2 separate regions of the Homo sapiens genome follow, and region 1 is linked to region 2. Evidence: promoter capture Hi-C in 16 types of primary human blood cells and fetal thymus (Javierre and others, 2016). All regions are on one chromosome and are shown on one strand. The core of a region is centred on a gene start or on the middle of the fragment in contact, and the rest is flanking DNA. Distances in the headings are between cores, read along the strand shown. Region 1 has its middle 7.2 kb from the start of FNDC7. Region 2 holds the start of VAV3 (vav guanine nucleotide exchange factor 3).

The links. Contacts are between HindIII fragments. The CHiCAGO score rates a contact against its expected background, and 5 or more counts as called.
Region 1: a fragment that was not itself captured here is called in contact with the fragment with the promoter of VAV3 in region 2 in 1 of 17 cell types (neutrophils); the score reaches 5.6 in neutrophils.

What each region holds. Positions count from the first base shown.
Region 1 is chr1:108,703,495-108,707,893 of GRCh38, reverse strand. No RefSeq gene overlaps it. Among named protein-coding and RNA genes, the nearest start is that of FNDC7, 7.2 kb to the left of the region's middle. RefSeq lists an enhancer at 4,292-4,381. The HindIII fragment of the contact is 3,687 bases long and covers 1-3,314 here.
Region 2 is chr1:107,962,125-107,966,451 of GRCh38, reverse strand. It overlaps VAV3 (vav guanine nucleotide exchange factor 3), which reads left to right and starts at 1,272. Exons shown (of 27, transcript NM_006113.5): 1 at 1,272-1,786. The coding sequence starts at 1,583. It overlaps VAV3-AS1 (VAV3 antisense RNA 1), which reads right to left and starts at 2,009. Exons shown (of 3, transcript NR_046653.1): 1 at 1,948-2,009. RefSeq lists enhancers at 486-555, 491-785, 2,132-2,261. The HindIII fragment of the contact is 4,630 bases long and covers 1-1,991 here.

The DNA of each region.
Region 1 (4,399 bases), core at 222-2,721, 740 kb before region 2:
TTAGCTTATGTTACTTGGTGTGCAATTCCAGATCTCAGAACTGTGATTAGTCGGGATTAGGTTTTGCTGAGAGTGGACAGAAAACCTATAACAGTGGCTTAACCAGAAGTTTCTTCCTGATATAAAATAGTAGAGGCAAAGCCTCCAGGAGTGGCGTGGCAATTCTATTCCACGGAGTCTTGAGAGACCCAGGCTCCTTTTTCCTCTTTAGTCTGCCATCCCTAGGAGGAGGCCCTCCTTCTTGGTCCAAGATAAAGTTCCAGCTATCACATTAAAGTTCTAAGCAGCAGAATTCAGTGAGAGGAGATAAAAGAGACTAACGATACATTCCAGTAATCTCTATTGGGGAACAATTGGCAGTCTACCACACAAATGAATGAATAAATAAATGTGATCTGGTGCATAGGTAGATCAGCCAAGGGCAGAATTTAAGACATGTAACGGAAAGATATAGAGAGAGGTGGCCAGGCGCATTGGTTCATGCCCATAATCCCAACACTTTGGGAGGCCAAGGCAGGTGGATCACTTGAGCCTAGGCGTTTGAGAGCAGCCTGGGCAACATGGAGAGACCCCATCTCTACCAAAAATATAAAAAAGTCTCCAGGTGGGGTGGCGTGTGCCTGTAGCCCCAGCTACTCAGCAGGCTGAGGTGGGAGGAGTGCTTGAGCCCAGGGAGGTCAAGGCTGCAGTAAATATGAATATGAAATGAATATGGAGATGAAGTAGGAACTTCAGAAACTAGTAAAGATTTGAAGTGGCCATTGTAGGGGATATCAAAAAGAAATATTTAGGGATATAGAAGGAATGTAGAGTAGGATTAACTCCAGGAAAACATTGGAAACTGCAAGATTTTTAGTGGCCCTAATCCATAATGTAGTCTTCCACCATGCCCTTACATCCCCCTTCTGCCAAAGGCAGACCATTTCCACCAAAAAAAAAAAAAAAAGAGGAATCATATAAAACTTCCTATTTGGGCCCAGCATGGTGTCTCATGCCCATAATCCCAGCATGTTGGGAGGCCAAGGTGGGAGGGTTACTTGAGCCCAAGAGTTCCAGACCAGCCTGGGCAATGCAGTGAGACCCCACCTCTATAAAAAATTAGCCAGGTGTGGTGGTGTGTGCCTATAGTCTCAGCTACTTGGGAGGCTGAGGTAGGAGGATCACTTGAGCTTGGGAGGTTGAGACTACAGTGAGCCACGATCGTGCCACTGTACTCCAGCCTGGGCAACGGAGCAAGACCATGTCTCAAACAAACAAACCCCACTTTTTGTCACAAACACACACCACTTTTTTTCTTCTTCACTCAAATTAAGTAGATGGTATTTTCTTGCTGGTACTAACAAGGATAAACAGATTAAAAACTCAATGTTAGAAAATATCAGGAAGACCCTTACTGATCAGAGATTCCTGGTTATTACAATAAAAGAAACCAGAGTTAGGCTCCTGTATTCCAGGGAAGAGAAACTCAGGCCACCTTAAGAAAAACAGAGAAATTGCAAGGATATCCACTGACCAGACTGGGAAAAAACTAGAAAGCCAGCAGGAAGTGAGGCAGCTTCAGGGTCCGGTGACTCTTTTACATGGTCACTGTTGTAAGACAACTATGCATCTTGTCCACTCTTCTAAGGACTGGCCAATTCTTAGTTTTCTGTTAAAATTCTGAAAGAAGCCTGTCTGATTCACTTACATAATTCTCAACAAACTTCTTGGGCTGAGCCCTTTATACTAGACTACTTCATCAGCCAGCCAAAGGAGGGAGCATCCATATGACTGGCATCATTTTAATACATTGTACCATTCAGGGTCCAGTCCAGAGACAGAAAACACACAGTAATTCCAAGAGGCAAAGTTTGATACAAAGAATTATTAACCAGTAACGGGGTTAACTACTAAAGGTAAAGAGAAGGCTAAAAAAATACAGTAATAGTGGATATAGGGAGCAGCCATTACCTCTAGTGCTGAGGCAGAGGACCCAAGAAAAGAACAAATGTGGGGGACGTGGCTGGGCACAGTGGCTCACATCTGTAATCTCAGCACTTTGGGAGGCCAAGGAGGGAGGATTGCTTGAGGCCAGGAGTTTGAGACCAGCTTGGGAAACACAGTAAGACCCAGTCCCTAGGAAGAAAAATAAAAATCAGCCAGTTGTAGGGGCACCCGCCCATAATAATCCTTCCTAACCACTCAGGAGGCTGAGGCTGGAGGATTGCTTGAGCCCTGGTTGAGTCTGCAGCGAGCTGAGATCGTGCCACTGCACTCCAGCCTGGGTGACAGAGCAAGGCTCTGTCTAAAACAACAATAACAACCAAAACAAAACAAACAAACAAAAAACGAAAACATTAGGAGACGTTCCCTTGCTAGACTGAGATTCAGACCTTGTTGGCGAGGGTGCAGTTGTGGCTTCTCAGCAAATGCTGAGAAGCTGAAGGTTGGAGCTGGAGAGCAGAGGTGTCAACAAAAGTAGCTAGGAGGCCACCCACTGGGGTGCCACTGAGACTTACTGGGAAACCTGTGAGGTCCTGCTGAAACTCCTGGGCAGGTGCCTGCTGGAGCACTAGCAAACTTGCTGGGAAGCGGGCAGGGGACTCGTGGACTTGCGGGGAACTCCCACTTCTCTCAATGAGATGGTACTGAAATTTGCTGGGGGATATATATTGCTGGGTGCTCTACATGCCACTGGCCCCTACACAATGGAGAAGCAAAAAGAAAAAAGAAAACACACCTCTCTGCTGCAGCTCCCTCCAGCATGCTCCACTGACACGCTTAACATTATGCCAGCCGGCAATGGAAAAATGTTTAAAAGGCCCAGCTCCAGAATCACGAAGCAGGGAAATAAAAGGTGGATGTGGAGCTAGAAAATGTATAAATAACTGGCACATCCACAAATCACTGGCTGTCCCTGCACAAGTTTCGGCTAACCCATGGAACACTTCATTCAGGAAATGTTCACCGAACCAGTACCTGGATTGGCTGGATGAGTGTTGCATTTAAGATTTTCCCTCTATTGGTATAGTCGAATATCCAGGACATTGACTTCAAAATTTCTAAATAAGAGGGAAGGAGAAGACAAGAGGTCTTCCCTTGCATTTGCTCAGCAAGCACTGCTTGTTTTCACTTAGATTATATGTTTATTTTGGATGTCAGAGGTTCATAGCTGATGGAATTTGTTGGAGGGCGGGGCAGGGATGTGTGTGACTAATTGCACTGACTCAAGAAACAGAGAAATAATTCAGCTTCAGAATGGCCAGAACAAGAATCAGCCAAGGAAAACCAACTGAAGATTGGTGGACTTTAAGTACCTGCAGATCAGGGAAGCTTATGTGAGGATTTCTTTACAATAAGTAGTTCTTTTTCCAATCCTTGTGGCAAAACCTCAGGGCTTACATGAAATGCTGTAAGGTCAGTTCTCTGTTTATGCAATAGGCTGAAAAAGCACCCCCCACCCCCTAACACACACATCTGGATACATATCTGTGCTACACATTGTGGATCATGATTATGTAAATAGAAATGCTTTGAATATCAATACTCTGAGAAATCAAATAACGGATTTTAAGTCAGCCATGATGCTAACATTTTCCAGTTGTGACAATGGTCCCAATAAATGCCATTTCAGAGGTACTTGCAAAGTACTGTGGGACTTTATAGGGTGGAATGACGGAGGGGAAATTTCAGAGTGACACTACCAAGAAGCGTTTCCTGCCACGTAAAATCATCTCTACTTAAGAGGTCCTATAATTTAGTCATTCAAGGCTGATTTCAGCATTTACGTAATAGAATCAAACTAGGAACAGAATCAACGCCCATCAGTTGGCCAATATCACCTGAGAATTGGTCCACTAGTCAGTGTTTGAGGTTGCACGTTGGCATCAGTTGAAAGATGTACAAACTGCCAGTGGTGGGACCTCATCTCTACTAACCAAAAACTTTATAATAAAGCACAACTTTTAGGGAAGAGAATTAAGTGAATACCATTGTCATTTTTTTCTTCCTCTGCAGCTCTAAGTAAAATAACAAAACAGATACTGCCTTTGCAACTAACTGCCTAAGTACTCTTAGGAACTTAAGTTTCTGGTTTATTAATTCCCAAACACTGTACATCTAAGCATAGTTTTAAAAAAATCAGTTAATGAACAGAACCAAAGTCCTAGGGCAGTTTGTGAGTTCCTTTGAAGTTACACACAAATTTTAAGGTACTTTTTGAGACACAGCCTCCTTCTCTCGCCCAGGCTGGAGTGCAGTGGTGAGATCTCGGCTAACCGCAACTTCCGCCTCCCAGGTTCTAAGCGACTCTGCTGCCTCAGCATCCGGAGTAGCTGGGATTACAGGCGTGCACCACCACACCCGGCGTATTTTGTATTTTGTATTTTGATTTTTTGAGACGGAGTCTTGCTCTGTCAAC
Region 2 (4,327 bases), core at 23-2,522:
TCAGCTCACCGCAACCTCCGCCTCATGGGTTCAAGCGATTCTCCTACCTCAGCCTCCCGAGCAGCTGGGACTACAGGTGCGTGCCACCACGCCCGGCCAATTTTTTGTATTTTTAGTAGAGACGGGTTTTCACCGTGTTAGCCAGGATGGTCTCGATCTCCTGACCTCGTGATCCGCCCGCCTCGGCCTCCCAAAGTGCTGGGATTACAGGCGTGAGCCACCGCGCCCGGCCTATTTTCTAATTTTAAGTGAATGCATCTCAAAAGGGTGACGAAGGACCACATTCCTATCGAACAGCAATAATTCACTGTGGCAATATCTTGCCACAAATAATTTAAACATTAATTGTGGTTTTGAGGGGCAGTGTGCAGTGGGAGTAAAAGGGGTAGGGTTTAGAGTCTCCAAAAGATTTACTTAAGAAACACGAATGCACTGCTTGTGCACTGCGCAAAAGTTCTGGGGTCAAGTTCCAACTTTCACTAAGGATCCCAGAACAGCCCGGCAGGAGCTGCCCAGGGCTAACGCGCTTTGCTCTCAAACCCGGCCGCCAGTCGCCGACGCATGCGCAGTCTAGCACCGTGGCACAGGCCTTTCTCAAGCAGGTTTTTGTGGGGTCAGCAAAAGGGCCAGAACAGCAACGGCAAACAGTTCCGAGCCTGACAGTGCAGGGGCAAACCAGCTCCAAGTGAAAATCACCTCGCGAGGAAATAGGCTCAGGGATCGGGGCGGTTTCCGCAGGCGTCTCCACACACGCACTCTCACTCACTTTGAGGGTGCCAAAACACCACTAGGGGCAACTAGGAGGAATAGGCTGAGGAATCAGCTATAGAGAATGGAGGGGATAGAGCTGCAAGGGGCGAGGGGGCGACGATCTCTAAAACTTTCAGCGCCGTGCTCTACTGATGCTCTAGGCACTTTTTTCATTGCTCTGGGGAGTCTGGGTGCCCCAATTAATCCGTCGCTCCTTTGAGCATTTGTTGTTTAGGGGGTCCTGGGGGACCCCATCGTATTACAGTATTCAGCCACACTCCCCGCAAAGCCGGGAAGCCGCCCCGAGAGAAGACCCCAGGACGCCGGGGGCTGCGTGAGCCCCGCAAGGCTGCAGGCGGGGGCGCGGGATCCCCTTTCTGGCCGCCGCCCCCCTCCGCCGGCCCCTCCCCCGCGCCCCGCCCTCGGCCACAGACCCCAGCCCCGGCCGCCGGCGCGCTCCCACCCGCGCGTCTGGGGACTTGCGGACCGCAGCGAGACCGGCCGGCGTGCTGGGCATGCTCAGTGGCGGGCCGGGCGCTGGAGTCGGAAGCCTGTGCGCGGCAGCCGCCGCCGAGCCGGCCGGGGCGCACGGAGAGCGCGCGGGACTCGCTGCAGCGGCGGCCGGGTCGCGGCGCACCCGGGCCGGGACCGGAGCCGAGCCTAGCGCGGCGCCCGCGACCCGTCAGCCGCGGCTCCTGCTCCCTCGATCCCGCGCGGGGAAAGGGCCGGCGGCTGTTGGCGTCGGCGGGGCGCGGAGGAACCGCGGCGGCGGCGGCGGCGGCCGCATCCTTGCCGCCCGCCCCGGCCCAGCCGCGTCCCGGAGCCGTCGGGCATGGAGCCGTGGAAGCAGTGCGCGCAGTGGCTCATCCATTGCAAGGTGCTGCCCACCAACCACCGGGTGACCTGGGACTCGGCTCAGGTGTTCGACCTTGCGCAGACCCTCCGCGATGGAGTCCTGCTCTGCCAGCTGCTTAACAACCTCCGGGCGCACTCCATCAACCTGAAGGAGATCAACCTGAGGCCGCAGATGTCCCAGGTGAGGAGGCCGGCACGGGCGCCCCGCCTCCAGCCGGCAGCTCCCATTAATCATGCGGCTAATTTCTTTGTGTAAATGCAAACGTCTAGGTGCGCTGAGCTTGCCCTGCTTCCCAGCCTTCTGCTTTGGGACCACTTCGGCACCACTTTGGCGTTTCCTACCTTGGCTTGAAATGGTTTAGCTCCTCAAGCTGAATGCGAAAGCTTTGCGTCCGGAGATGGTGTGAGGATTTCGTAAAGGCTTTCTGTGAGGCGGGAAAGAAATAAGTTGTCTTAGGGTGCCCTTCACCTACTCTGCGTGTGTGTGGCGCGACAAAGGGAATTTGATCAAGCTCTTCTATAATAACGAAGGGGAGGGACGAAACGAGGTGATGGGGTAATTTGCCTTTAGTCTCTTCTTTTGCTTTGCGTCTTGTACTCATGTTTTCCTAAAAGAGGAACCATGACATACATGAGGACTCGAGGAAGTGAAGGGCGTTTGGTCCCGTTATCTGTCCAGGAGTGACATTGGTCAAAGGGAAGAACAGGGAGCAGAACCCGGAGGCCGCCCCCAGGGCCCCTGAGCTGGTGGCCAGCCGGCAAGCTCCCGTTTACAGCTCTTCCTAAGCCATGTGAGAAGGAGCGAGTCCAGCCTCTCTCAGCAGCGACAGGAAATGAGAAGTTTCACTAGAGATTCCGCTTTCCTTCCTGCAGTGCCCTGCTCAGGTGCTGTGGTGCCGGTCGGCTCCTGGGGCTGGAGCTGCCTCTTTGAGGGTTAAGCCAGACACCTCTGGAAGGTTGGGTGCACCCTAGAGTCAGCTCAAAAGTCACAGTTCAGTGGAAGAGTAGTTTATTTGTCCTGTCGGAAAATTTTTGTACAGAAGGATGTTAAACTCGGTTCAGAGCCTCTTTCTCTTTCAGAATGTTAAAACAAAACAAAAAACCAAACTGCTTTCAACTTAAAAGGGAGAGGACAGAGCCCTCTCCCTGACACATTTCAGCACTAATCCTCTATGACGCAGAGCCTCAGCTACTTAGCAACCAGAGCAGCGCCTTTTAAGAAGGAACGGACTTTATATGATTTAATAAGTATGTATTTAAAGTTAGAGCACACACAGTCATCTGTGATTCTTGGTGTCAGTGTTTCATCAGGGTCCCCTGCACTTCAGATTCTGCATTCCTTGCCTGTTTGCCTTCAACCTGCTGGTGGGCAGTCCCTAAGAAAGAACAGGCATGGAAGTGGGGAGAGCCATACGTATTTAAAAGTGAGGTAAATTATTTTATACCCCCATAAACATGCATGGTGATTGCTACCTCTCGGTACCCCTTCAGAGTTGTCTCAACTCTGGAAATTCCTTTGAGGGGTTTGGCAGACTTTTCTATTATGGTGGGAGCTGCAGTTAGCTACTCTCACACATCCCCATTTTCCACTTTGCCTGTAGCCTCAGGAGGCAGCGTGGGTCAGGATGCCTTGGCCCACCAGTAGGGAGTACAGTACTGTGCACATTTCCTGGAACTTGTTTCCTGGAACTCTCAGCAGTTGCTCTCAATAATCACGTTTTCTGGACAGCTGAAGACCTTTTTAAACCTCGAAGCCTTTATTTGAATGCTAACAATGGATGAGAATCGTTTTGAATGTGTTTCACTCTTCTCCTCTTATGTTAGATGTAATTTAATCTTTCTGATGACCAAAGATTGTCATTATAAGCATCATTAATGAAAATTGAGCACATACAATGCTCTAAGAGTTCTGTTCCCTAGTGGGGGTAGCAAAATGAGCACACCAGGATACTTGCCCTAAAGGAATTATTACACTATGCTATCAGATGGTAAATCACTGGGTTATAATAAGGTAAGTAGGACAGCTAATGACCTTCTTTGTGCCGTTGCACTTTTGAGTTCTTAAGTCTGTTCAACCTTGAGGTTTCTGGTTCCAAATTAAGTACAGTTTCTCCTGTAATGTCCTATGAGAGGGTGCTTCCCTCAAATGTGAATCCTAGAAGGCTAGTACCTGAGCCTGGTGATGTCTGTTTTTGCTTTCCTCATGGTTCTTGGCCTCATTGCAGAGAGGCAAGGCTGCTGAACAAGTGGATGCTAGGCCGATGAGTTTGTATCATGCAGGTTGTCATTAAATCCTTTAATGAGACTTATGAAATGATTTTATGAAACAACTTGACGTATTTAACATGCTTATAGTGCCTAGCACATGTACTTAATAAATGTTTACTATTAGCAAAATTATGAAAAACATTTTTTCTGCTATTGTTATATTAAGAGTAATAGGTTCCAATAGAAATTTTAAAACAATTGTAGAGGCCTACCGGTTCCTTTGGGCTGATAACCCTAGACATTTTGCCGCTAACTACTCATCTCTTTCTTGGGAAAGGTTCTAGCTGTAGTGAATACACTATTAACCTGGTACAACCCTGTCATGTCCCAGCAGAATGTATTCCCCTGGAGTTAGAGATGTCATTACTAGTACTTGTGGCGTTTTGGTATGTCTGAGAGTCGTTCTGTCTACTTAGATTCTGTTGAAGATATTAATTTGAAATAGACTATTTTT